Regions from separate parts of the Homo sapiens genome. Here all the other regions are linked to region 1. Evidence: promoter capture Hi-C in 16 types of primary human blood cells and fetal thymus (Javierre and others, 2016). All regions are on one chromosome and are shown on one strand. Each heading gives the region's core, a stretch centred on a gene start or on the middle of the fragment in contact. The rest is flanking DNA. Distances are from core to core; before and after follow the strand shown.

Region 1 (4,318 bases), core at 922-3,421:
CTCAGGTGATGCTGATGCCAGACCTGGGACCCCAGGTTAAGAACCACCGGGCTGCCCGGGTGTGGTGTCTGACACCTGTGATCCCAGCACTTTGGGAGGCCAAGGCGGGCAGATCACGAGGTCAGGAGATCGAGACCATCCTGGCTAACACGGTGAAACCCCGTCTCTACTAAAAATAGAAAAGAAAATTAGCCGGGCGTGGTGGCAGGCGCCTGTAGTCCCAGCTACTCGGGAGGCTGAGGCAGGAGAATGGCGTGAACCTGGGAGGCGGAGCTTGCAGTGAGCCAAGATCGCGCCACTGCACTCTAGCCTGGGCGACAGAGCGAGACTCTGTCTCAAAAAAAAAAAAAAAAAACCACTGGGCTGAAGAATTAAGACTTGTTGGTCCTGGGAGAGGAAGGGCAGTGGAATATAAAATGTTAAATCTTTAAAGAAGAAGAGGGTCTTGATAGGACTGAGTGTGTATGGAAGGCTGCGAGCTCCTGGATCCCTGAAGGAGACAGAGGCCTGTAGCCTCCTCCGCCTTCCGGAGCTAGGGTCATGGGTCTGAGTGGGGAGGGCCTGGGGCCTGGTCTCCTGGATCTGAGGGAGGAGGGAGGTGGGGTCTGGTCTCCTGGATCTGAGGGAGGAGGGAAGTGGGGTCTGGACTCCTGGATCTGAGGGAGGAGGGAGGTGGGGTCTGGTCTCCTGGGTCTGAGGGAGGAGGGACTGGGGCCTGATCTCCTGGGTCTGAGGGAGGAAGGGGTGGGGTCTGGACTCCTGGGTCTGAGGGAGGAGGGGCTGGGCCTGCACTTCTCGGTCTGAGGGAGGAGGGGCTGGGGTCCTGGACTCCTGGATCTGGGGGCAGTGGGCACTGGGGACCTGGACTCGTAGGTCCTGACTCCCAGCCTCCTCCTCAGGAGCGCCTGGACCATGCTGCTGAGCGCCTACTGGCACGGCCTCCACCCGGGCTACTACCTGAGCTTCCTGACCATCCCGCTGTGCCTGGCTGCCGAGGGCCGGCTGGAGTCAGCCCTGCGGGGGCGGCTGAGCCCAGGGGGCCAGAAGGCCTGGGACTGGGTGCACTGGTTCCTGAAGATGCGCGCCTATGACTACATGTGCATGGGCTTCGTGCTGCTCTCCTTGGCCGACACCCTTCGGTACTGGGCCTCCATCTACTTCTGTATCCACTTCCTGGCCCTGGCAGCCCTGGGGCTGGGGCTGGCTTTAGGTGGGGGCAGCCCCAGCCGGCGGAAGGCAGCATCCCAGCCCACCAGCCTTGCCCCGGAGAAGCTCCGGGAGGAGTAAGCTGTCACGACGCTCCCTCTGCCAGCTGGTCCCGGGAATTCTGTGAACCAGGCTGCTGTCTCCTCCCCAGAAAGAGTCCTTACCTTGGAGAGGGTCCTGGAGAGAATTTCCTCTTCCCCAGCTAAATACCCTGCCTGCAACTGAAGCAGACCCGGGGGTGTCCTCCCTGCCCTCTGCCCAGAGGCCACCTCCACTCCTACAAAATCAAAGTATTGTCCAGACAAGAGTCACTGGCCCCTGCTCCAGCTTCTGGGTATCCAGAGAGCACTGCACTTCCCCAAAACGGAAGGGGCCCCTGGGCAGTGGGTTTTGGGCAAATTCCCTTTCTTTGCATCCACAATGTGGGGTCGGAGCTTGGGGGCAGGTCCTGGGAGTGGGAAGCCTCTTCCTTGTGTCTTTCGCTCCACTTTTAGCTCATCGCACCAATATTGCAGACTTGGAAGGAAGCATAAGCTTCCCATTTCACAAAGGGGAAACTGAGGTGCGGGTGCGCGGGCCTGGGGACGGCCGTCCCATGGCTTCCATCTGAGCCACCTCGGGACCCCAGCACTCCTGGCGCCCTCTTCTCATCGCTTGGCCTATGACAGGTCACCGTGTGTAAATCTTTCCCAATAAAGTGTTGCACAAAGGCATCGTGTCCGTGCAGGTATCTGGGTGATAAACGGTGGGAAGGACTTAGTCCACCAAGTCCCAGGGTGAGGTACAGCCCCCCCGCCCAGCCCAGGAACCAAACTGTGAGGCCCGGGGCACCACGGGGACTTCAGCTCCCAGGAGACCTTTCGCATCAGCGGCCCTGAGAAACCACAGGAAGTGTACCTTACTCCCTCCGGGCCACCTGCTGGCCAGGTACACACCTGCCCCTGGCCCCTCCCTTACCTGGGGCAGTGTCTGCCTGGTGGCCACTAGAGACAGCCCAGCCTGGGGCCATGGAAGAAAACCCGACCTTGGAATCAGAAGCCTGGGGCTCCTCTAGGGAGTGGCTGGCCCCCCGGGAGGCCAGAGGAGGTAGGGAATGCCAGGAGAAGCTCAGATCCATCCGACCTTCAGGCTAGGTGGGAGTCCTGCTGGAGGAGGAAAGGGGAGGCCTGGCCTCCTGAGTCTGAGGGCTAAAGAGAGAAGGTTCCACTTCCTGATATTATGGGGGAGAAGGGAACTGGAGGCTGGAACTCCAGGGTCTGAGGAGGAGGAGCCTGGAGAACCAGGCTAGTCTGGGAGGAGGGGAGGGCTAAGGGCTGGGAGTTTGGGTGTCTTGGGAATAGGAGAGGCTGGGTTCCCACACTCCTGAGCTAGAGGGAAAAGGAAGTTAAAGCCTGGACTCCACTGCCCTGGAGTAGGAGGGTTCCACGCTTGGGGATGGAGTTGAGGGCTGTGGACCCCTGGGTCCAGGGGAAGTAGAGGCTGGCACCCGGACTCCTGGGCCTGAGGGAGGAGGGGCTGGGAACCTGGTTTCCTGGTCTGAGGGAGGAGGGGCTGGGTGCCTGGATTCCTATGTCTGAGGGAGGAGGAGCCGGGGGCCTGGACTCCTGGGTCTGAGGGAGGAGGGGCCGGGGGCCTGTTCTCCTGGGTCTGAGGGAGGAGGAGCCGGGGGCCTGGACTCCTGGGTCTGAGGGAGGAGGCGCCGGGGGCCTGTTCTCCTGGGTCTGAGGGAGGAGGAGCCGGGGGCCTGGACTCCTGGGTCTGAGGGAGGAGGAGCCGGGGGCCTGGACTCCTGGGTCTGAGGGAGGAGGAGCCGGGGGCCTGGACTCCTGGGTCTGAGGGAGGAGGAGCCGGGGGCCTGGACTCCTGGGTCTGAGGGAGGAGGAGCCGGGGGCCTGGACTCCTGGGTCTGAGGGAGGAGGAGCCGGGGGCCTGGACTCCTGGGTCTGAGGGAGGAGGGGCCGGGGACCTGGTTTCCTGGTCTGAGGGAGGAGGAATTAGGGCCCAGACTCCCGGGTCTTCCCAGCCCCCTGCTCCTCCCCAGGCCCATCGCTGTCTTCTGTGCTGAACGAGCTGCCCAGTGCTGCCACCCTTCGGTACCGAGACCCTGGGGTGCTGCCTTGGGGGGCGCTGGAGGAGGAGGAGGAGGATGGAGGAAGGAGCAGAAAGGCCTTCACAGAAGTCACCCAGACAGAGCTGCAGGACCCTCACCCTTCCCGGGAACTGCCCTGGCCCATGCAGGCCAGACGGGCACACAGGTGAGGCCCCACCTCCAGCTGGGACCCGCACAGCCCGGACCGGGCCCTTCTCCCATACCCTGGACTCGGTCTCCTCCCTCTGTCCTCTGCCGCTCCTGGCTTCTGGGGCCTCTCTCTGCCCCGCTCAGAGCTGCCTCTCTTGGTTTCTTTCTTCCCCTCATCTTTGTCTCTACTTCGGACTCCAGGTGAGTGCTGCCTTTCGATGGCTCTGGGGTCTCTTCTCTCTGGGATTTGCCGTCTCCCTGGTCTCCACCAATCCTGTCTCTGCCTCAGTTTCTCTCTGTGTGTGTGTCCAAAATCTGTTAATATTTATTTCTCTCTGCTTTATACCTTCCTTCATCTTTGCCTCCTCTTCCAAGCCTCCCTCTCTTTAACTTCTTTCTTTTCCCATTCTCACTGCATAATTTGCAGGGCCTGGTGAACAATGAAAATGCAGGTGCCCTCCTTCAAAAATGATTATGGGCCCATTGCAGTGGCTCACACCTGTAATCCCAGCACTTTGGGAGGCCCAGGCGAGTGGATCACCTGTGGTCAGGAGTTCGAGACCAGCCTGGCCAACATGGCAAAACCCCAACTCTACTAAAAATACAAACATTAGCTGGGTGTGGTGGCGGGTGCCTGTAATCCCAGCTACTCGGGAGGCTGAAGCAGGAGAATCGCTTGAACCAGGGAGATAGAGGTTGCAGTGAGCCAAGATCGTGCCATTGGACTCCGGCCTGGGTGATAGAGCGGGACTCCATCTCAAATATATATGCGTATATATATGCATATGTGTGTATATATATACACATATATATGTATATATATGTGTATATATATGGAAAAAACAATAAAAAATAACAATGTATCAACACTCC
Region 2 (4,324 bases), core at 1,456-3,955, 96 kb before region 1:
CGCAGAAAAGGGTCAGGGAGATACCATTTCTGTATGAAGTATCTGAAGACAGCCTGGTGCCTGCCCCAGTCCCAGCCTTGGGGAAATGAAAGTCAAGCTCCCGGAGAGGGCAGTTCCCCTTCTTTTGGGGCTGATGACGGGACAACCTCGTGATGGAGAACCCAGGTTCCCAGTAGATTTACTCCATCCAGGAACGGTGGCCTCATCCATCTGCACAGCTGGGGGCTGTGGAGGAGACGCCATGACTCCCTCCCACAAACCTCTGATCTGTCTTGATAAAATTGAAAGAGGGAGAGGGGAGACTGTAGCCTGGAAGGAATCCCACCTCACAACTTGGTCCTGATTGAATAGAAGACCCCAGAGGTTCACAGAGATCCCAAGGTGGGGAGGATCTGCCCAGGGTTCAGGAGGCGAATCTCTCTCAGGAAGCTCCGTGACCCCCTCTCTAGTGTCACTCCTGTGCCTCAGTGGGATTTGGAGAGGATGCCTTAGATTAGAGGGTATTGTTCAGTGGGATTTGGAGAGGATGCCTTAGATTAGAGGGTATTGTGTCTTTCAGCAACAAAACCGTACAAAAAAACACCTGGACATTTCACATCAGTGGATAAAGCATATCTTGTGCCAAATCAGGACCAAACTGCGGTGAAATTTCGGGTTCACACTACAGTTAATCGCCTTTGAGGAAAGCATTCCAGGTTGGTGCCTATCTCTGCGATAAACGTCTCCCTTCCTGGCTACAGGTAATGGATTAAAGCGACACTGGCCGAACAGACACTGTCTTCACCCGATGATTATACTGAAAAATGGCCATAAAATTGTTCCCTCCAAATCCAATTCCCTTTGTGACAACTCTCAAAAGAAGATATACGAACGGTCCACAAACATATGAAAAACATGTATGTGTATGTGTGTATATACACACACACAGCACGGAATACTACTCAGCCACAAAAAGGGACAAAATAATGGCATTCGCAGCAACCTAGATGCAGTTGGAGACCATTATTCCAAGTGAAGTAATTCAGAAATGGAAAACCAAACATCATATGGTCTCATAAGTGGGAGCTAAACTATGAGGATGCAAAGGCATAAGAAGGATATAATGGAATCTGGGGACTCACAGGGAACAATGGGAGGGGGATGAGCGATAAAAGACTACACATTGGGTGCAGTGTACACTGCTCGGGTGATGAATGCACCAAAATCTCAAAAATCACCACTAAAGAGCTTATCCACGTAACCAAACACCACCTGTTCCCCAAAAGCTATTGAATTTTTTTTAAAAAAATAATAAATTAAAATAAATGTACTACATTAAAAACAACAACAAAATGGCAAAAATCCAATTGCACATAGCAAAATGTTTTCGTGGTCTCTGCACGCTAGAGCATGTAATTGGTCTTTGTTCCTTTCTACTGTTGAAGAATATTCCATTCTATGCCTATATCACATTTGGTTTATGCATTCACCAATTGATGGACATTTGGGTTGTTTTCACTATTTAGCTATCATGAATAATGACAAAAAAAGGACATATATTTGTTTGGGTTTTTTTATTTTTAAAAGGTTACAATTATTTATTTATTTATTTATTTACTGAGACAAAGTTTCACTCTGTCGCCCAGGCTAGAGTGGAGTTGTGAGATCTTGGCTCACTGCAACCAGTTCAAGCAAATTTTTGTGCCTCAGCCTTCTGAGTAGCTGGGATTACAGTTGTGCACCACCACAGGAGGCTATTTTTTTTAATTTTAGTAGAGACAGGGTTTCGCCGTGTAGGCCAGGCTGGTCTCGAACTCCTAGACTCAAGCCTTCCACTCGCCTCAGCCTCCCAAAGTGCTGGGATTAGAGGCGTGAGCCATCACACCATGCCAAAAGGTTATAATCATTTAAATTCGGGTTGCAACTGTATGCTTACAATTCTCTACATTTAGATTTAAAAACATTTTATTGATGGTCAATCTGGAACATAATTAATGCATCTTAATTAAGTTTCCACTGATGTATATAGAAGGCTAAAGGCTGAAGTTTTATTCACCTCTAGTAGAGTAACCAACCATAAAATCATTAGTTACTTTCAACTTCATAACTAATTGACATTTCCCAAATGAGCTGTCTTTAATCCTGATAGTTCTTTAGTTTTAAAAATATATTTGCCATGGGATGCTGATTTGCAATGGGTGTCATAATGAGAATAACCAAAATTGGGTAAACGTGACAAAATATTGACAAAATGTTTCACACCCTTAAATTACACAACGTCAATAATGAGGAGAAAGCATTGCAAAAGGAGACTACTGCAATGCTACTTATATTCTTGCAATAAAACCAGCAAAGCATCCACATCAAGAGAGTTCTCATCTCACTTCCAACTTTTTCCCCTGAAGAACAATTTGAATCTCTTTGGCACCTAAAGTCTCATAGGTCAATAAAGCTTCTGCTAGATTCTTATGCTCCTCTGCATGACTTTTCAAGATAAGTTTTGCTCATTTTTTTTAAGGTTTGCATCATTCTTCTTTATTTTTGACTTGATTTTCCATTCAACATCACCAACAAGTTTTTAGCGAAATGTAATAATTATATAATTAAACATCTTTCATGGATCACCCTATCCATCTCTACTATATAAATTTAAGATGCTAAATGTTTTAAAAATACTTCTTGATTATGGTTATTAATTGTTCACAAGTCCACTGGTAAATATTACTTATTCCTAGACTGAAACAGAGCTAAACGTCAATACTATATCTAGTTTTCATTTGTATAGATACAGGACTGAGAAAATTTGTTCATCTAAATAAATACTATGGATGGGGTAGGAAGGTGTTTTGTTATAACCATGTCATACAATTATTTGAATTTTGAATAAGTTTTGCTCATTTATATGAGTCCCTTAGAATGGTTCTTATTTCATGTTCAATAGCAGATTGAGTTTCTGGACTTAGTTTCCCTGTGTCACTGTAGGTCATAACTCCAAGCTTTTCGCTAATTCCAAATTTGATAACCATCTGCTTTGCCATTTTAGTGGCATTAGCAAAATCACTGGAAGCACCTGTTGTAATATGGTCAATTCCAAATATAAGCTCCTCTGCCACTCTTGCTCCCATACTAATGTCCATTTGTGCAAGCAGCTGGGCTCTGGTTTCATTCCATCTGTCATCACCAGGTAATGGGGACACAGGTCCAAATGTTGGCCCCTGTGGCATGATTGTAGCTTTGTTGATAGACATTTCATCTTTTGTGTAATATGCAATAATGGCATGACCAGATTCATGATAAGTTGTGATGGATTTGTTTTTGTTATCAATTTCTGTACTTCTTCTGTCAGGCCACATTATAATTTTGTCTTTGGAAAACTTCAGTTCCTTCATGGTAACCACTTCTTTTCCATCAACAGCTACAAAAGGACGTGTATTTGGTGTGATTTTATGCACATGAAATATCCAGAATAGACAAAGCCATAGAAACTGAGAGTAGACTAGTGATTTCTTAAGGCTGAGGGAAGGGAAGAACTAGGACTGACTACTTGGGGGTTCTTTCTGAGGTGATGGAAATGCTGTGGGATGAGGTAGGGATGGTGATTGCACAGCATAGTGAAGACACTAAAATCCATTTATTTGTACACTAAAAAATGGTGCATTTCATATGGTGTGAGTTATGTCACATAACTCAGTAAGTAAATAAATAATTCATATCCCGGCTTCTGCCCAGGGTTTGGGGAGCTGGAAAGAGTTTCACTAGCTGGGTGCGGTGGCTCACACCTGTAATCCCAGCATTTTGGGAGGCTGAGGTGGGTGGATTGCCTGAGGTCAGGAGTTTGAGACGAGCCTGGAAAACATAGTGAAACCCTCTCTCTACTAAAAATACAAAAAAAAAGCTGGGCATGGTGGCACATGCCCGTAATCCCAGCTACTGGGGAGGCTGAGGCAGGAGAATCACTTGAACCCAGGAGGCAGAGGTTGTAGTGAGCCAAGAACACGCCATTGCACTCCAGCCTGGGCAACAAAAGCGAAACTCCATCCCTCCCCCTCCCTCCCCCACTCCAAAAAAAGAGCTTCTCTGCAATCCTAACCATGAGTAAAACTCAGATCAACTCCATAATGTAGATTTCACCTGAGACCATCAGAAATCCGAGCTCTGGGAGCAACTGAGTAACCTGAATTCCAAGGAGGAGTAGGATGCCATGACAGGCTCTACAAAGGCAGAACACATGAGGGTGGGAGACTGCCATACAAGCTGGGAAGGAGGAATCAGATGATATTGTCATGAATTCCTCAAGAGTTAGTGTTTGCTGGCCTCCAAGAGGCAAGGATCTCTGGGAACTTAA
Region 3 (4,155 bases), core at 395-2,894, 120 kb before region 1:
GGCTGAGACAGGAGAATCGTTTGAACGCGGGAGGTGGAGGTTGCGGTGAGCTGAGATTGTGCCACTGCACTCCAGCCTGGGCGACAGAGTGAGACTCTGTCTCGAAAAAAAAAAAAAAAAGATTTGCATTTCATGCTTAAATGTATGCACACTAGTGACTTAATTACTTCCTCCCTGAAGACCCCAATGGCACCAGACACAAATGCTCTGTCAGTTTTAATTTTCTCTTTAATGCAGGCGCTTCTCCTTCTGACAAGCTTTCATTTCTCATTTTCTGGACATGACTGTGATAACGGGGGTGTTGATGAAATATTATGAGAAGCATCTCTCAAGGGCAGGAACAAAGGGGCTCTCCTTAGTGGAAACATCAATCTCAGGCCTTGATGGTGGGCGCCAGCATCCCTTCATGCCCCCACCCCTCCTGTCTTCACCTGCTCTGGAAATTACCCATGGCTGAGCCCCCTGCAGTCCCCAGGCTCCAATGACCCAGCTCCCCTGTGATAAATGGGGTTCATCACAGGCTCCAAATGAGGAAACCGAGGCTCAGAAATGGGAGGTTACTGCCCAAGGTCACACAGGCAGGGGGTGACACATGAATATTTAAATAAAGACAAGATTTCCCCTCAAAGCAGAGTGCTAACCCCACGTATTGTCCCAGAACCTTGAACTCAGGAGCACAGGATGGGAACAGGAGTGTTTGAAAGAAGACAGGGGCACCAAGAAGGCAGAGTCAGGTCAATGTTGTTTCCAGGGAGACGGGGGCAGATGCTGTTGCGATGAGTGAATGAGAAGTTCGTGAAGGGAACGTTTTTGCATAAAGAAAACCCACACTCCAGTTCTGGGGAAAGAGTCATGATTCCTTCCCTTGTCTCCATGTATTTCCCTTTTCTGTTCATCGCCACAATAAAGCTCAACTGGAACTGCACAGCAAGATGCGAGATGAGTCTCTGCTGATGTGAGTCTGCCCCGCAGCCTGAATTTGCATCTTCCCTGAAGCTTCCCCAGGACTGGTGAGAAGACTGGCCATGGTAGGTTCCCCACAAGGGTGTGTTTATGGGTGAGCTGAAGGAGAGAGGGAAACCCCACGAGGAGTCTCTGAGAGGAAGGAAGAACCCTCCGTTGCCTTCACCTGGAAGGGACCAACTCAGGAAGGCACCACGTCCATTTGCAGCTACGTCCCGGCCCTCAATGAGACGAGGACATGTCAGGCAGACAGTGAAAGGAGATCAGGAGAGATGCCATGCGTGTCTGAAATATCAGCAGAAAGCCTGGTGCCTGTCTCAAAGGATGGTTCAATATATGCAAGTCAATAAAGGTGACTCACGACATAAACTAAGAACAAAAAGCATGTGATAATCTCAAGCGATGCAGATAAAGCATTCGAGAAAGGCCAAGTCCTGGGAAAACATGAGCCAGCGGGGTCCGGGACAGCTCACCACCCATGGAGATGCTGGTGGGAAAATCCTGTAAGTGGGAGTAAGGAAGGAGACCACTACTACTCCTGCTGCCCTCCTCCCCCCACCTTGCCTAGTTCACAAAACAGGAAGAGAGAAAAAGCCAAAAGTTGGAAAAATACAAAAGTAAGATAAATAGCCAGACAACCTTGGCACCACCACCCGGCCGTAGGAGTTAAAAAAAGTAATAATAATAACATCAACCCCTGACCTAAACTACTGGTGTTATCTGTAAATTCCAGACACTGCATGAAAAAAGCACTGTAAAACTTTTTGTTCTGTTAGCTGATGCATATAGCCCCCCACAGTCATGTTTCCCACGCTTGCTTGATGTATCACGACCCTTTCACGTGGACCCCTTAAAGTTATAAGCCTTTAAAAAGGCCAAGAATTTCTTTTTCGGGGAGTTCGGCTCTTAAGACGCGAGTCTGCCCACGCTCCCAGCTGAATAAAAACCTCTTCCTTCTTTAATCCGGTGTCTGAGGAGTTTTGTCTGCGGCTCGTCCTGCTACAGGAGAGCCCTGCCTCTCTGTGCCATGACTGTCACTCCCATGGCCATGGTCCACTTCACTGAGATTTGACGAGGGGAAAGGGAGATTCTAGCATGAGAGGGACCCTGCCCCACAGATAGGCCCTGGTCCAGTAGGAGACCCCAGGGGCTAGGGAGGATCCCATTCTCATTTTCCTGGGAAAATGTTTTCACTTCTCCCCATTCAATTTGATGTTGGCTGTGGGTTTGTCACGCAGGGGGTGTTGGTATTTTGCGGTATGTTTCTTTCATGCCTAGCCTGTTGAGGGATTTTATCACGAAGCGATGTTGGACTTTCTTGAAAGCTTTATCTGCATCTATAGAGATGATCATATGCTTTTTGTTCTTAGTTCATGTCATGAGTCACTTTTATTGACTTGCATATATTGAACCATCCTTTCTTCCCTGGAATCAAGCCAACTTGATCATGATGAATTATGTTTTTGATACACTGTTAGATTCCGTTTGCTAGTATTTTCTTGAGGATTTTTGCATCTGTGTTCCTCAGATTTCTTGGCCTGTAGTTTTATTTTTCTGTTGGATCCTTGTCTGATTTTGCTATCAGGATGATACTGATTTTGTAAAATGAGCTGGCAAAGAATCCCACTTCCTTGATTTTTGGAATACTTTCAGTATGATTGGTACCAGCCCTCCTTCGTACATACAGCTAAGTTCAACTGCGAATCCATCTGTTCCTGGACTTTTTTGCTGGAAGATTTTTAGTACTGATCCTTTTTCATTGGTTGTTATCGGTCTGTTTAGAGTTTCTATTTTTTGCCTGTGCAATCTTGGGAAGTTGTGTGTGTCTAGGAATTCATCTATTTTCTCCAGGTTTTCTAGTTTATGTGCATAAAGGTGTTCATAGTAGTCTCTGATGATCTTTTGTATCTCTGTGGTGTTGGTTGTAATGTCAACTTTATCATTTCTGATTGTGCTTATTTAAATCTCCTTTTTTTGGTTAGTGTAGTCAGCCATCTCTCAATTTTATTTATACTTTCAAAAAACCAACGTTTTCTTTCATTGATTCTTTGTAATGTTTTTGTGTCAGTCTCATTCTTTATCTGTCCTTTCAGAGTTTCCATTGTTTTCAGCATCCATCACTAGCGAGCCAGTGCGATCCTTTGGTGGTGCCACAATATTCAGATTTTTCACGGCGTCAGAATCCTTACACTGATTCCTTCTCATCTGGAGAGGCCTCCACTTACTCTCTTCGAATTTATTTTCGTTTGGATGGGATTTCTTTTGCACATTTTCCCCCAGCCCCGCAGGGAGGGTGACTGTAGAGCATGTTGGGAAGGGTCTTTTGGCTTTTCCCATGGCTTTGGGAGCTTCTGCAGCAGGGTTTGCATTGGGCTGTGCAGCTCAGATTGCAGGCCAGGAGCTGGTGCTTAAGGGTAAGAGCCACGCTCGGCACAAGCAGGTGGATGTGGACCTGGTGTGTTTCCTGTGAGGTGCTGACTCTTGTTTCAGGGGAAGGGCTGGACCGTGGAGTGTCAGGTGCCCTGAGCTTCCTGTTCCACAGGGGCGAGGGAACACCCCTGGGCAGAGCTGGAACCCCCGGCTTGCCCACAGATATCCCAGTGATGAGTGCAGGCACTAGTCCTGATGGACATGGCTGGAGCAGCTCCTAGTGAAATGCCCTGAGGTCTCTGCGGGGAGTGAAGGAGCTACACCGTTTCCAGTCCCATAGGGAGGAACGTTGTCTGTCTCCCTATCACACCCGTGCTCCAGGGCTCATGAGTCTCAGTTCAGACACACACTCTTGTCTCTCCCCAGGCCACAGTGTGGCTGAGGGCAGTGGGAAACACCTGCCTTGCCACTCTCTGCAGGCGTGGTTCCAAGGCAGAGCCTCCTCCCTCAGCCCAGTGCAGACCCTGAGCGGCTGTCTGTTGTCTGACGCGGTAGCTGCTTCATGTAGGTGGGATGTGGGGCTTCTGCCTCTCTGGATGGGAGAGTGGACGTCAGTTGTGGTGGTGTTGCTGGCTGGGTGGGCCCGACCTCAGGCCCTGGGGTGAGTGGTCAGGTGCCAGCAGGTAGGAAAGGGCAGGTAGTTCCCGGATCACAGGCCCCTAGGTGGCCGGCTGGACAGCGTGTGTGAGTCCTGAAGGGGCTGGACTGGGTTTCGGCTGCTCCGGGGTTCAGATGCTGGCTGTGATGGGGAGGGATGGGCTG

What was found. The method cuts DNA at HindIII sites, captures the fragments that hold promoters and counts their contacts. A CHiCAGO score of 5 or more calls a contact.
Region 2: a fragment that was not itself captured here is called in contact with the fragment with the promoter of TMC4 in region 1 in 1 of 17 cell types (neutrophils); the score reaches 5.5 in neutrophils.
Region 3: a fragment that was not itself captured here is called in contact with the fragment with the promoter of TMC4 in region 1 in 1 of 17 cell types (neutrophils); the score reaches 5.5 in neutrophils.

Annotation. Positions count from the first base shown.
Region 1 is chr19:54,171,013-54,175,330 of GRCh38, reverse strand. TMC4 (transmembrane channel like 4) reads left to right here and starts at 2,171. Exons shown (of 15, transcript NM_144686.4): 1 at 2,171-2,292; 2 at 3,248-3,461. The coding sequence starts at 2,214. MBOAT7 (membrane bound acylglycerophosphatidylinositol O-acyltransferase MBOAT7) reads left to right here. Exons shown (of 8, transcript NM_024298.5): 8 at 900-1,916. The coding sequence ends at 1,287. RefSeq lists enhancers at 416-1,231, 1,232-2,048. The HindIII fragment of the contact is 9,651 bases long and covers 1,743-4,318 here.
Region 2 is chr19:54,267,076-54,271,399 of GRCh38, reverse strand. It overlaps the pseudogene LOC100420187. Among named protein-coding and RNA genes, the nearest start is that of LILRB2, 12 kb to the left of the region's middle. The HindIII fragment of the contact is 544 bases long and covers 2,434-2,977 here.
Region 3 is chr19:54,286,115-54,290,269 of GRCh38, reverse strand. No RefSeq gene overlaps it. Among named protein-coding and RNA genes, the nearest start is that of MIR4752, 6.1 kb to the right of the region's middle. The HindIII fragment of the contact is 1,292 bases long and covers 999-2,290 here.